Regions from separate parts of the Homo sapiens genome. Here region 2 is linked to region 1. The links are contacts of gene promoters, found by promoter capture Hi-C in human tissues and cell types (Jung and others, 2019). All regions are on one chromosome and are shown on one strand. The core of a region is centred on a gene start or on the middle of the fragment in contact, and the rest is flanking DNA. Distances in the headings are between cores, read along the strand shown.

Region 1 (7,322 bases), core at 2,091-4,590:
AAGACCATGCCTCTGCACTCCAGCCTGGGCAACAGAGTGAGACTCCATCTCAAAAAATAATAATAATAATATTTGATGAAATAATGGCCAAAAAACTTCCCAGAAGCCCAGAATTGATGAAAGACATGAATCTACATATCCACAAAGCTCAACAAACTCCAAGTACAATAAACACAGAGAACCACACAAAGACACATTAAAACCAAACACACACAGCCTCCTCGTCCAGGCCTCTTGGACACCCCCTCCTATACAGACCTCCATCACCTGACACCTGATCTCCTACCTGAATATTCAGCAGTGAACAACATAGACAAGCATCACTTGATCACTTGGTGGAGACCCAGTCTGGACGAGGAGGCAGATAAACTAGAACAAACCACTGGGACTGTTAAATTCAAGTTGTGGCAAGTGTTAGAAGAAAGGAAACTGAGTAATGTGATACTGACTAGACAGAGGTGGTGGACAGAAAGGGTCTCCCTAGAAGGTGCCATTGGACCTAAAGGATGAGAGAGAGGTGGCCTCAGAAGAACCAGGGCTTCCCAGGCAGAAGGAACCATGTGTGCAAAGGACCTGAGGCAGAAATAGCTTGATATGAAGGAGAACCAGAAAGGAGGCCATGGTGAGTGAATGGGACAGCCAAAGAGATGAGGCTGGAAGTCTTGTGAGACCATGCTGGGAATCTGAATTTTATTCTAGGTGAGGTGAGCAGTCATAGGAACACTATTCAGCAGGATGGTGCCACAATCTGATTTCAGTTTTAAGTCCACTGTGGGTAATATATGGAGAATGAAATGTAGGGCTAAGACAGGTTATATTTTCCCAGATGGCCACAATATCTCCCACCCTACATCCACTTGTACAATGTCACCTTGACATGCCTCCCATGTAGAGAGGTATAATCTGTGCCCCCTTTCCTTGAATCTGGTGGCAGAAGTGACACAGCATGACACTCAAGGCTGGGTCAGAAGAGATGCAACTTCTTCCTTGTTCACTTTTAGAGGGCTGGGTGGCTGTCTAAGAAGTCTGACTACCCCAAGACCACCATGCTGGAAGGAAACCCGAACCACACGGAGAGGCCTGTGTAGCTACCCTGGTCCACAGCCCCAGCAACAGCTGGCGTCAGTTGCAAGACCTCTGAGTGAAGACACCTCCAGATGACTCAGGACCCTGCCATTTTTTAGTCACCCTCTAGCCTAAGTCTCCCCTGTCCAAACTGAACCACAGCATCTGTGAGCATCATGTAAACCAAAAGGTATCTCAGATAAGTCTCAATAAATTTAGAAAGCTTATTTTGCCAAGGTTATGGACATGCCTGTGACACAGACTTAGAAGCTCCTGACAACATAAACTAGGGTAGTCAGGGCCACTACCTTGATTCAGGTCTGTAATCCTAGCTACTTGGTAGGCCAAGGCGGGCAGATCACTTGAGACCAGGAGGGTTTTTTGTTTTGTTTTGTTTTTTTGTTTTGTTTTTTTGAGACGGAGTTTCACTCTTGTTGCCCAGGCTGGAATGCAGTGACACAATATTGGCTCCCTGCAACCTCCGCCTCCCGGGTTCAAGAGATTCTCCTGCCTCAGCCTCCCGAGTAGCTGGGATTATAGGCATGCACCACCACCCCCAGCTAATTTTGTGTTTTTAGTAGAGAAGGGGTTTCCCCATGTTGGTCAGGCTGGTCTCGAACTCCCAACCTCAGGTGATCCGCCCGCCTTGGCCTCCCACAGTGCTGGGATTAGAGGCGTGAGCCACCGCACCCAGCCGAGCCCAGGAGTTTGAGACCAGTCTGGGCAACATGATGAGACTCTATCTCTACAAAAAGTAGGGAAATTAGCCAGGTATGGTGACACATGCCTATAGTCCCACTTGCTCGGGAGGCTGAGGCAGGAGCATCACTTGAGCCCAAGAGGCTGAGACTGCAGTGAGCTGTGGTGGTACCACTGCACTCCACCTTGGTCTAGTTTTATATATTTTAGGGAGACATGAGACAGCAATCAATATATGTAAGATGCACATGGGTTTGGTCTGGGAAGGCAGGACAACTCAAAAGTAGGGAGAAGGCTTCCAGGTTATAGGTGGATAAGAGAGAAACAATTGCATTCTTTCGAGTTTCTGACTAGCCTTTCTGAATATGCAATTTACAGAGATAGTCACTTATGCCTTAGTCTGGCTTAGTGAAACAAATAGGTAAGGAAGCGATCAGATATGTGTTTGTCTCATGTGAGCAGAGGGACAATTTTGAGTTCTGCCTGTCCTTCATCCATAAGGAATTTCCTTGTAGGCAAATTGTGGGGGAGGTATGTAGCTTTTTTTTTCTTTTCTTTTCTTCTTTTTTTTTAGACGGCATCTTGCTCTGATGACCAGGCTAGAGTGCAGTGGTGCAATTTTGATTCACTGCAACCTCCACCTCCCGTGTTCAAGCAATTTTCCTGCCTCAGCCTCCCAAATAGCTGGGATTACCAGTGCCCACCCACCATGCCTGGCCAATTTTTTTTCTTTTTCATATTTTTAGTAGAGATGGAGTTTCACCATGTTGGCCAGCCTGGTTTCGAACTCCTGACCTCAAGTGATCCGTCGCCTCAGCCTCCCAAAGTGCTAGGATTACAGGAGTGAGCCACCGCGCCCAGCTAGCTTTTTTAACCTTGTAGCTATCTTACTTAGGAATAGAATGGGAGGCAGGTTTGTCCTACACAGTTACCAGTTTGACTTCTTCCTTTTGGCTCAGTGATTTGGAGGTCTCAAGATTTATTTTCCTTTCACAATCACGACATGGTTGTTTTACATCATTACGTTTGGGGATGGTTTGTCAAACAGCAGTAGTAATTGGAATTTGGAGGTGAGAGAATTGAGTGGGGAAAGAGTGGCATGGGGAGACCAAGGAAGAAGCTTGGGGTGGGGTGGGTAGTGGGGACGGTCATTGAAACGAATGACACTACGGCTTGCACCAGGTTGAAGCAGTACCTGGCAAGGAGAGAGAGGATACGTGGAGGCTGCGATTTGGAGACAGACCCAAGAGAACTTCCTGGATGCCATCACCCAGAGTCCCATCCAGGGAGGGTGGGTGAGGTGGAAGACAAGGGATCGGGCCTGCGCCACGATCGTCACGTCCCATCGAAGCTGGAGCGGATCCGGGCACCCGGAGCCCCCATTCCAACCCCTCCCGGCCCCAGGCAACTACATCTCCCAGCATCGCCCGCTCGGGCCGCGGGAAAGGGGAAAAAAAAAAAAAGTTTGGGCCAAGCATTCCCGGAATGTGCTTCCTGCTGGCGCGGGGCGGGGGGCGGGCGGGGAGGCCCGGGCGGGGCGGGGAGGGCGCGGGGCGGCGCGGCCGGAGCCCGGGGCGCGCACTCGGCTCGGCCCGGCCCGGGCCGCAGCATGGCCGAGCCGCTACTCAGGAAAACCTTCTCCCGCCTGCGGGGCCGGGAGAAACTTCCCCGGAAAAAGTCGGACGCCAAGGAGCGCGGTAAGCGGAGATCGGTGGGGAACAGGGGGCGCCGAGCCCCACCCGGCCTGGGAGCGGGGTCCCAGGGCCCCGAGGACAGACGGTGGGGGGGATCAGGGGGAGCCCCCCGCACCCCGCTGCAGACTGGGGTGCCTCCAGCCAGGGGAGGGTAGGGGTCCTGGAAGGAAGGGGCTGGGAGGGAGGGGGGCGCGGACCGTTATGTGCTGCTGGCCGGGGATGCCAGCGCTGCGGGCTCCTTGGGAGGCCCGGGAGGGGGCCTCGCCCACGACAGGAAATGGGGCCGCGACTGAGGGCCTGGAGGGTGGAGGGGAGGAGGGGCTGGGAGGCCGGGACACTGGGGCCCAGTCGGGCTGGGCAAGGGGCATCGGGAGCCCTGGAGGCGCAGGATGGGAGATGGGAGGCGTACTCCTGCAAAGGAAAGAGAGGGGCGGCCCGTCAATCAGAGTAGCTGCCCCCTCCGCCTCCCACCTACTAACAGTGACGGCAACTGCGCCTGCCTTAGCCCCAGGAAACTGTCCCTTTTATACAGATGGGGAAACTGAGGCACGGAGCAATTGGGTCATGTGCCCAGGGCCATCGACTTAAACAGCTCTTTGGACTATGCTACAAACAGAGACCCTAGAGGGTGGACATCAGAGGTGGCCAGAGGAGGAGTTCAGCAGGGTAGCAAGTAAAAACCTTAGAGAAACAGCTGCGTGGGATAGGGGGACCCAGGAAGGAAGGAGTTAAAGGAGGAAGGCCAGACCATTCCATGGACGTACCCCTTCCCCCCAGGCCTTCCCAAAGATTCCCAATGTTCCCAGGGAAGGGAGAAGGGACAGAGATGCCCAAACACAAACACACACAGGAAACAGCCCAGGACATGAGACAGGAGAGGAGGGAGGGAAGGGGAAGTCCCAAAGCATTGAGCGTGGGGGGTCTGGCCTGGGCTGAGGGACAAGGGCCCATCCCAGGATGGCGACAGAGTTTGGAAGACAGGAGGGAGGGTAAAAGGGGCAGGGGACTGGGAGTGACTGTGCTGCAGGGAATAGAAAACCCAGCTCCTCACTCCTGAGCACGTAGTGCCTGCTGTGGGCTGTATACTTTTCCAAAAGGCTCCTGGAAGCCTCCCTGGACATGGAAATCACATCCCCCCATTTCACAGGAGGATACTGAGCCTCAGAGAGGGAAGCGACTTGCCCAAGGCCACGCAGGTGCAAAGCTCCATGCCACGGTTATTGAGAGGGTAGAGGAAGTGGAGACTGGAACGCAGTACCTACGGGCCCCAGGAAGCCTGACTTAGAACCCTGAGGCTGCAGGGATGGAGTCCCCTTTTGGGATGCCAGGGACTGAGTAGGGGGTGCTCTAAGCTGATAACTGAGATCGCTAGCCTGTGGCTGCCTATTCCAAACAAAACAGCAGGATCCAAGGAACCATGACTTATCAGGGGCCGGCCAGGGCCGTACACAGCATCCCACCCACTGATCAATTGCACAGGGCTGCTCTGCAGGCAGTGAGGGGCTGGGTGGGTCTCACTCCCCTTGCTCTCTGCCAGGCCACCCAGCCCAGCGCCCAGAGCCCAGCCCTCCAGAGCCAGAGCCCCAGGCTCCCGAAGGGTCCCAGGCCGGAGCAGAGGGGCCCTCCAGCCCCGAGGCATCAAGGAGCCCTGCACGGGGAGCCTACCTGCAAAGCCTGGAGCCCAGTAGCCGCCGATGGGTGCTGGGTGGGGCCAAGCCAGCTGAGGACACCTCTTTAGGGCCTGGGGTACCTGGCACTGGGGAGCCCGCCGGCGAGATCTGGTACAACCCCATCCCTGAGGAAGACCCCAGACCTCCAGCACCTGAGCCCCCGGGGCCACAGCCTGGCTCAGCTGAGTCAGAGGGCCTGGCCCCCCAAGGTAAGAACAAGCTTCCCATCCCCTTCCCCAAGGTGAGCACCAGCTCCACATCCCTTCCCTTCAGGGTAGCACCAGCCTCACACTCCCTCCTCCCAGAGGAGCACCAACCTCACACTCCTTCCCTTCAGGGGAGCACCAGCCTCACATCCCCACCCCGTCAGATGCTCCCAGAGGAGCATCAGCCTCACACCCTCCTCCCCGCCAGGGGAACACCAGCCTCACACTCCTTCCCTTCAGGGGAGCACCAGCCTCACCCCCCTCCCCTAAGCCCAGGTTCCTGGACCCTGAAGTCTGCTCTCCACACAGGTGCAGCCCCCGCCAGCCCCCCAACCAAAGCCTCCCGCACCAAGTCCCCGGGCCCCGCCAGGCGCCTCTCCATAAAGATGAAGAAGCTGCCGGAACTGCGGCGCCGCCTGAGCCTGCGAGGCCCCCGGGCTGGCAGGGAGCGCGAGAGGGCTGCCCCTGCGGGCTCCGTCATCAGCCGCTACCACCTGGACAGCAGCGTGGGGGGCCCCGGGCCGGCAGCAGGGCCTGGGGGCACCCGGAGCCCGAGGGCCGGTTACCTCAGCGACGGGGACTCACCGGAGCGCCCAGCTGGGCCCCCATCACCCACCTCCTTCCGGCCCTACGAGGTGGGTCCCGCAGCCCGGGCACCCCCGGCCGCACTCTGGGGCCGCCTCAGCCTGCACCTGTACGGTCTCGGGGGGCTGCGGCCAGCGCCGGGGGCCACCCCCAGGGACCTCTGCTGCCTACTGCAAGTGGATGGGGAGGCCAGGGCCCGAACAGGGCCACTGCGAGGGGGGCCGGACTTCCTGCGGCTGGACCACACCTTCCACCTGGAGCTGGAGGCCGCCAGGCTCCTGCGCGCCCTGGTGCTTGCGTGGGACCCTGGCGTGAGAAGGCACCGGCCCTGTGCCCAGGGCACCGTGCTGCTGCCCACGGTCTTCCGAGGTAGGACATGCGGCTGCAGGGGAGGAGGGGCAGGGACCCCCAAACCCCACCGCCACCCCCCGCAGAGTGCCTAGGGGGCTGGGCTCCGGGCGGAAGGTGTGGCCTGGAGCAGCGAGGCCAGGGTACATGAAGCTTCAGAGCACACCCGGCTCAGGCCCCCTTGTGTCCTCAGGGTGCCAGGCCCAACAGCTGGCCGTGCGCCTGGAGCCTCAGGGGCTGCTGTATGCCAAGCTGACCCTGTCGGAGCAGCAGGAAGCCCCTGCCACAGCTGAGCCCCGCGTCTTTGGGCTGCCCCTGCCACTGCTGGTGGAGCGGGAGCGGCCCCCCGGCCAGGTGCCCCTCATCATCCAGAAGTGCGTTGGGCAGATCGAGCGCCGAGGGCTGCGGGTGAGCACCCACCCCACCCCAACCCTCTGGCCCCCAGACCTCAGACCACTCTTCAGGACACCCTATGTACAGATGCCAGACCCCTACCCCCAGGCCTGAGCCACTCCTAGCTCCAATCCCAACCTAGACAAGGGCAGAAGGCGCCCCCTTGACTGTAGCACCCTGGGCAGAACCCATGGGTCATCCATTGATTTAAAAACAGGATCCAAGCCCTCCTGGGGCTCAGAGTCTGATGGGGGAAAAGATACGACTCTAGTCATTCACAAATGTAAAACTATAACTGGGACTGGAGTTGGGGTGGGGTGTACCTAGGGTCTGGGAGAGCTTAAAACAAAACCTGGGGTAGTCATGGAAAGCCTCCTCAAAGAAGTGTCAGTTTCCTAAGTCAAAGGAGATGGCAGCCAAGACAAGTAGTCCAAGCAGAGGGTTTACAAGGCCAGGTTGTCAAGGTAGTTCCAACCTCCCAGCCCACAATGCCCATTGCTGCCTGGCCCAGAATTCCAGTGCTCACCCCACTGGGCCCTGATTAGTCTGTGGCCCCGGCAAGAAGACATTCACTCTCTCTTCCCACCCCCAGGTAGTGGGACTGTACCGTCTTTGTGGCTCAGCGGCAGTGAAGAAAGAGCTTCGGGATGCCTTTGAGCGGG
Region 2 (7,322 bases), core at 3,305-5,804, 1.0 Mb after region 1:
TTTGTATTTTTTGTAGGGACGGGGTTTCACCAAGTTGGCCAGGCTGGTCTCAACCTCCTGACCTCAGGTGGTCCACCTGCCTCGGCCTCCCAAAGTGCTAGGATTACAGATGTGAGCCACTGCGCCCGGCCAGTTAGGTTACCTACCTTTAAACCAAACACTAAGTACCCTTCAAGCCAGGAGCTGGACTGGGCATGGGTATGTCTTACCCAGGCATCACCTCCCGGGCAATAGGCCCTGTGTTCCTTGTCATGCAGATGAGGAGGGACTTTCCCCATCATTCAAACCAAGATGGCAGGCCTGAAAGCTTTTCCTGAGTCCCAGCCACCCTCAACAGCAAGAGCTATGTTCCTGAGCCACATGACTGGCTCTTCTGTGAACCAGAAACTCCAGGGAGAATTCCCTGGAAGCAAAGGTGCAGAAGAGGAGAAGGCGCATGGGTCAGGGATCCCATCATGGCTCTGCCACATCAAATGACCCCTCCAGGCCACAGTGTCCTTCCCTGTAATAATAGGGAGATTAGAAGGTGCTGCCTTAGCAGAAGAAGGTATCACAGTGGCTGAACGGTGAGAAAGCCAGGCATCCCGGGTAGATGCTCCTTGTCTCCTACTGAGGACAGTTATTTTCCTTTAATGTTGCTAATATCCCTTCTCTTCATGTTTAGGGACACAGCCGGTCAGGAACGGTTTCGGACGATCACAACGGCCTACTACAGGGGTGCAATGGTAGGGACTTTTTGTTTGGTTGTTTTTATCTGCTTTTTAAGTCAACATGGGAGCGTCACTGTGCATTGGTTACCGAAGCCTAGATGTTTCTGTGGAGCCCGTGCCCCAACTCCTCAGGGCTCCTTGGTCCCAAGTTAGTCTTAGGAACAGGCTTTGTGCCCCGGCCTACCCCCATGTACATACCTCCCCTTCTGGCTGCAGAGACAATGCAAGGTTTAAATAAAGTGGAAACATAATTCTTTGGGAATGAAGAAAGACACAGGAAGCCGGTTCTTCCAGGTGAGCTCAGTGCAGTTAAAGCCGGCATGCCCCGACTTTTAGGAGCTGTCACATGACCTGCATCTGTCTCTGAAATTTGCTACCAAAAGCTTGAAGATCTTCCAGGAGCTGACCTGCCCTGGGCTGTCGGCCGTTATATCCGTCACCCAGGCCTGAGGCGGGATGACGTGATGGGAAGACTCAGTCATCATCCCTCAAAACATTTCTCAAGCACCTTCTCTGGGCCAGGCCTTAACTAGATGCAGAAGGCGGCCAGGGATGGGACGAGGTCCTGTGTCAGGGGCCCTGTGTGTACATGGCAGGGCATTCAGGGGTAGAGGGAGCAGGAGGTGGAGCCCCTGGACCTGACCTGAGACCCTGGCTTGCCCACTGAGCTCCATCTCCTGACTTGGAAAAGGGAACGGAGCACAGCACTGTGTCTCGGGCTGTGCTGAGGATAAACGGCTGCCTCTCCCCATTCCCAGGTCCCTCTGCTCCCCACTCTTTCCTCCGCATACCCCATCATTTAATTGCTCAGGCAGCTGCCTGTTTCCTCGATGAGGGCAGCGCCACATCCTGGTCCCTGCCATCTGCCTGGCCCCGGGGAACCTGCTGGGTCTGCAGTAGTTGCTCAGGAAAGACTTGTGGAGGGTGGAGATGGAAGGAGGCATTATGTGTTTAGAGCATCCCACACGGCATCCGAAACCTCATGGCAACCCACTCGTGTGGGCTGCAGCCTTAGTGTGCCTCAGTAAAATTAATGTATTTCTTTCCCCCCACCTCACAGTTCTCTGGTGGAGGGTGGGCAGGCGGCCTGAGGGCACTGGGGTCTTGGGGAGCTTCAGCCTCTGGAGAAAACTGTGACCTGGGGCCTGTCCCGATCTTCTCTGGGCCCAAATAGCCACCTTCCACCCTGCCCTGACCACCAAGCCCTCCCCTGCACCAGGCAGTGGGCCCAGGTCTTAGCTCAGATTATCTCATTGCATTTTGGCTGTGAACCTCTTTGTGCAGGCGCCATTGTCATCCCTGTTTTATAACAAAGAACCTGAGGTTTGGCCCGGTGGCCTGCCCCGCTGAAGTTCACTCAGCAGGTAAATGGCTAGGCTGGGCTGGGCTGTTTGTCTCTAGCACCCACATCCTCAACCAGCACCAAGATGATCGTGGCTTTCCATCCTCCTAGACCCAGGCCAACCTGAACAGATGCCACCACTGGCTGCATGTGGCTATTTGAATTTACCCAATTAACATTGAAAATCCAGCCAGGCGCAGTGGCTGATGCCTGTAATCCCAGCACTTTGGGAGGCCGAGGTGGGTAGATCTCTTGAGGTCAGGAGTTGGAGACCAGCCTGGCCACATGGTAAAATTCCATCTCTACTAAAAATACAAAAATTAGCTGGGCGTGGTGGCGGATGCCTGTAATCCCAGCTACTCAGGAGGGTGAGGCAGGAGAATCGCTTAAACCTGGGAGCCGGAGGTTGCGGTGAGCCGAGGTTGCACCACTGCACTCCAGTCTGGGCAGCAGAGCAAGTATCCGTCGCTTAACTACTTAATTAATTAATTAATTTTAAAAAACATTGAAAATCCAGCTCCTTGGGTCAAAGCAGCTATGTTTCTGATGCCCTAGAGCCTTGTGTAGCCAGTATCAGTCATATGGGACAGCACCACCATTGCAGCTGTGTCCTCATCTCTGTCAGCATGCTCATAGACCCTTGGGCCTCAAAATCCCAAGTTTGGGAAGCATTGGATGCCTAGAGACCCATGGTGAGGTTTGCCCAGACGGGGCCCTGGAAAATAGTCACTTGGAGCCCTGAGGGGTGTTTCCAGGAAAACCTGGAATAGGATGGCTGGCTCAGTGTTTTCCAGGTGCTTCTGCTTGATTCTAAGAGAGAGCTCTACCCACTGCCCCACTAACGTCCAGGTTCTCCCCTCAGCTCCCTGAAATAGGTATAATCCAGGAATTTGAGTCTTAGGCACATGTCACCAACTTAGTGGTGAAGGCAGGAATCCTGGGCTTTCAGAGGGTCCAGTCCCCGGATAAAGGGCCCCACGCCCCCTGTCCCTGACCATGTCACAGTCACAGGGTGTGCCCACCGTGGATGGGGCATGGCAGACATCATGGGCCACTGCAGCCTTGAGGTTCTTCGCCATGGTTGCGGCTGACTGTGAGGCCATTATTCATGTCCCTGAATTCCCAGGAGGATTTGGGGTTGCAGTGACTTTCTTGCCCCATCTGTGTCGTTTTTGTCCCACACTCTTGCACCCACATCTGTCTCACCATTACCACATGGCCCGTGTCCTTATTCTGCAAACTTGGATGGCCCCAGACAACTTGGCCAGCAGCAGAAGTCATCAGTGCCCTCAGGTGCCACAGATGCAGGGCTGGGCCTGGGGAGCAGGTAGCGAGGAGGAAGGAAGAAATCCAGGCCTGGCCATGAGCAGGCCACGTGCCTTGGAGCCCAGGATGCCCGGCAACAAAGGGGGACTTGTGATGGCACTGCAGGCTGGCCCGCTGTGGGCACTCCACAAGGACATCGAGAACCACACAGACCGTCAGAGGGTGGCCCCCACATGTGGGTTCTGGGGCTGAAAAAGGCCCAGGGATATTGCTGAGAGGATAGGTGTCATCAGTGCTTTTGGAGTTAGCCCCCCCCCGCCCCCCGTGCTTGAATCTTAAAGGTCACGTCTCTGTGCCTCAGTTTCCCCTTGCATCGCATGGGCATGTTTGCGCTTGTCCACAGCAGTAGCGAGGCTGTGGACCCAGGCTGAGGCGGGGCTGCCCCGAAGCTCTTCCAGGACCCACGAGCCGTCTCCCAGTTGCTCACGTCTAGGTTAGGGAACTGGAAGGGCCTTGGCACTCTCGGCTCCATCTTCACACAGCCGGTTCCCTCTGTGGTGGGGTCACTGGAAGTTGTGTGGATGTCGGGTCAGGACTTCCTGGGCTCAGTTGTGCCTGGTAGGTGGCTCAGGCAGAGCGTGGGGTGAGCAAGGGGTGAAGAGGAGGCCGATTGCAGGGGAGGGTCAGCGTGAGGGGAGTGCTGCTGGCAGTGGGCCTGTGGACCGGCTCCCACCGTCAGGCTGCACCACCCCGTGGGCCATGAGGGGAGCCAGCCGGGCTTGTCAGCGAGTGCGTGGCAGGGGCTGGCCTGTGAGGCAGAAGGGTCACCTCAGCGGCCCGGGGGGCAGGACAAGGCTGGTGCCAGAACCCAGCAGAAAGAAGGGCCACAGGGATGGAGAGGAGGGGGCTGGCTTCCGGGGCTCCACAGAGGTGGGGAGGGCGGCAGCTAATGGGCCTGGCTGTGCAGTGGGTGCTGGGCTCCCCACCACTGTTCTCTGGTGCCGCTGAGGCCTCCCTTCCAGAGCCTGCAGCCGATCAGGCACCTGTGTCTTCTCTCCCCGCGCAGGGCATCATGCTGGTCTACGACATCACCAACGAGAAGTCCTTCGACAACATCCGGAACTGGATTCGCAACATTGAGGAGGTGAGGCCCTCCGGCTCCTCCCACTGTCCCTGCTTCAGTCCTTGTCCCAGAGCCCTCTGGTTTACTCATGAGAAGGCCAAGGTGCAGAGACACATACAGGCCACTTGCCCACAGCCTCCTAGTCAGGGACATGGTGGGAGCAGGGACTGAGATGCAAGCAGCCGGCCCCAGGGACCACACACTGGCCTGGCCCCACCCCGGAGCCCCTCGGAGCCCATCCCTCCAGCTAGGCTGTTGGATCTGGCCAGTGTCATGGTTATAAGAGAAAGGATATCCAAGCTTGTGGTCACCATGAGTGTTGGGTGCTTTCTAGAGAAGGAAGGGTCTAGCACAGGTGTGACCCTTGTAGTTGGAGGGTGTGGTGAGCAGGCGTCAGTTGTACTTTGAGCTATATCGGAGCAGGGTGTGACCTGGTACAAACGACCTGTGTTCAGACCTTGAACCATAGAGCAGTGAGAAGTAGGCCAACCCCTCCTCCCCTCCCAAAGCCAGCATCTTCATCTTCTGCTCCCCAAAGAGCTGACCTCACCCCCAAAGCCTTCCTGGCTGCCGGCACCTGCAGCTTTCTATAACTAACCATGTGGGGCTTCAGGTCTGAGGCACAGCCAGAGAACTTTTCCCATCTATAAAACCACAGCAAAAGGGCATATCACTGTCCACCCAGGACTCATGGACCTCCCAGGCCAGGCCGAGAGGCCACCCCATCATTTGTGAGTCATTGCACTGGGCTCACCTCCCCAGTGACCCTGAGAGGGCTGTGCTGCCAAATTTGCCAGTGCAGGGCTGCACCCCAGCTGGGAAAGCTGTCTTCATCCGTGGAGAGGAGGAGAGCCTGGTCTTTGTGAAAGGTCTCTGTTTCTGGCCAGCGGGCAGGAGCCACCTTCTGGTTCATGGGAAGTGAGGCAGGGAGTGGCGCAGTAGGTTCCAGAGACCAAGTCTGAGCTGGTGGAAGAAGACAGCAGTTTCCAGTGTCCCCGTCCTCCAGGAAGCGTGGTCCGCTCCATGGGGACCCAGGGAGACTTGACGAAGGAGCTGCCTTTGGGTATGAGGGCAGAGTTTGGGCAACATCAGACAGGGTGGTGAAGTGCCTGCAGCTGGTGACGGCCTCGAGTTGCGACCACCTCAGGCACGGCCTGTTTCTGGAGCCCAAAAATAGTTGAAATGTCAGGGCCAGGCGAGGTGGCTTATGCCTGTAATCCCAGCAGTTTGGGAGGCTGAGGCGGGCAGATCACCTGAGGTCAGAAGTTTGAGACCAGCCTAGCCAACATGGCGAAACTCTGTCTCTACTAAAAATACAAAAAATTAGCCTGGTATGGTGGCAGATGCCTGTAATCTCAGCTATTCGGGAGGTTGAGGATCGCTTGAACCTGAAGGCAGAGGTTGCAGTGAGCCGAGATCATGCCACTACACTCCAGCCTGGGAGACAGAACGAGACTCCATCTCAAAAAAAAACAAAAAAAAAAGTGTCAAAGCAGAAGGTCCCAGGACAACAGCTGGGGCCTCTTGCAGAGGAGCCAGGGAGGGAAGGAGGAAAGCCAAGGTCGGGGGGTAAATATCTCAGCCTCACTCACCTCCCATAGGCTAGACCCGCCCAGCATCCCAGGTGCGGGGGCTTGATTGATACAGCCATAGAAGCTGCCAGAAAGCATTTCAGAAAATGTGCATTTGCTCAGAGTAGCAGCTAGAACCCTGGCCCCAGCCCTGGCATTGGCTGTGTGACATGGGGCCGGCTGCTTGGCCTCTCTGAGCTTCAGCTTGTCCCTTAGACCAGGCTGTACCTAGCAGTCCTGACCCCACCGCTCTGATTTCTGGGGACAGACTGTGTGTTGGCAGAGGCACCTGGCCTGTGTCATCCGGTCTGATCCCCCGTCTGTCCCCCTCCCTCTCAGCACGCCTCTGCAGACGTCGAAAAGATGATACTCGGGAACAAGTGTGATGTGAATGACAAGAGACAAGTTTCCAAGGAACGGGGAGAAAAGGTGGGCATGGTGGCACAAGGGGCAGAGGGCCTCGGGGTCTTGGGGTTCTTGTGCAGAGGCCTTCCCCTGTCCCTCCTCTGCCCCAGGGGCCTGAGACGAGTTGGTCACCCCAGTGGGGCACGTGCCATGGGATGACAGAAGCACACACCCAGCCGGGGCTTCTTGGGTGCACTCTGCGGGCATCTCATCAAAACCTACCATGGCCCCGCTCCAGACTTTCAAGACCACAGGAGCGGGGAACAGAGCCATAGTTTGATCCCAGCAGGTCCCCGCCACCCTCCCATCTCAGCTGCCATCCCCAGCAACTCCATGCCCTGTGAGGCCCTGTGGAGGGGCATTCACTATAGAATTGAGGGAGTGATCCAGGAAGTCACGCCCACAGCCCCAGCCCTGTTGCTGCTCCCTCTTGGCGCCGGCCCTGCCTTCAGCTCCTGTTTTAGGCAAGCTCAGATGCGCCCGGCGGCTGGTGTGCTCATGCGTGTGCCTCCCTCTCTCACAGCTGGCCCTCGACTATGGAATCAAGTTCATGGAGACCAGCGCGAAGGCCAACATCAATGTGGAAAATGTGAGTCCCGGGCCCTGCTGGGAGACATGGGGCCTGCAGGATCGGCCCCTTCAGGCTAAAGGGGGAGCTGGCGTCCTCCGAGGAGGTCCTGCCAGACGGACCAGCCTCGGGCTCAGGGCTGCCAGTCAGTCCTCTGAGGGACATTTCCTGGGCAGTGCCACGTGCCAAGCACAGGCAGCCCCTGGGAATGTGCCATCAGCAGGGACAGGCACCACAAAGGGCACCTAGGACGCATCTCACGGGCTCTTGGGCAGCCCTGGGGAATAGGCACGGTTTTACAGGTGAGGAAACTAAGGCTCAGAAAGACCCAGCTCTG

Evidence for each region. Contacts are between HindIII fragments. The study calls those that stand out against the background at their distance.
Region 2: a fragment that was not itself captured here is called in contact with the fragment with the promoter of SYDE1 in region 1 in 1 of the 25 tissues and cell types used here (H1 embryonic stem cells).

Annotation. Positions count from the first base shown.
Region 1 is chr19:15,104,061-15,111,382 of GRCh38, forward strand. SYDE1 (synapse defective Rho GTPase activating protein 1) reads left to right here and starts at 3,341. Exons shown (of 8, transcript NM_033025.6): 1 at 3,341-3,461; 2 at 4,996-5,337; 3 at 5,644-6,288; 4 at 6,461-6,675; 5 at 7,253-7,322. The coding sequence starts at 3,374. RefSeq lists an enhancer at 5,027-5,577. The HindIII fragment of the contact is 3,798 bases long and covers 2,087-5,884 here.
Region 2 is chr19:16,121,086-16,128,407 of GRCh38, forward strand. RAB8A (RAB8A, member RAS oncogene family) reads left to right here. Exons shown (of 8, transcript NM_005370.5): 3 at 665-725; 4 at 4,385-4,462; 5 at 6,352-6,441; 6 at 6,941-7,006. HSH2D-AS1 (HSH2D and RAB8A antisense RNA 1) reads right to left here. Exons shown (of 2, transcript NR_199156.1): 2 at 754-5,902. Among named protein-coding and RNA genes, the nearest start is that of RAB8A, 13 kb to the left of the region's middle. The HindIII fragment of the contact is 7,709 bases long and covers 701-7,322 here.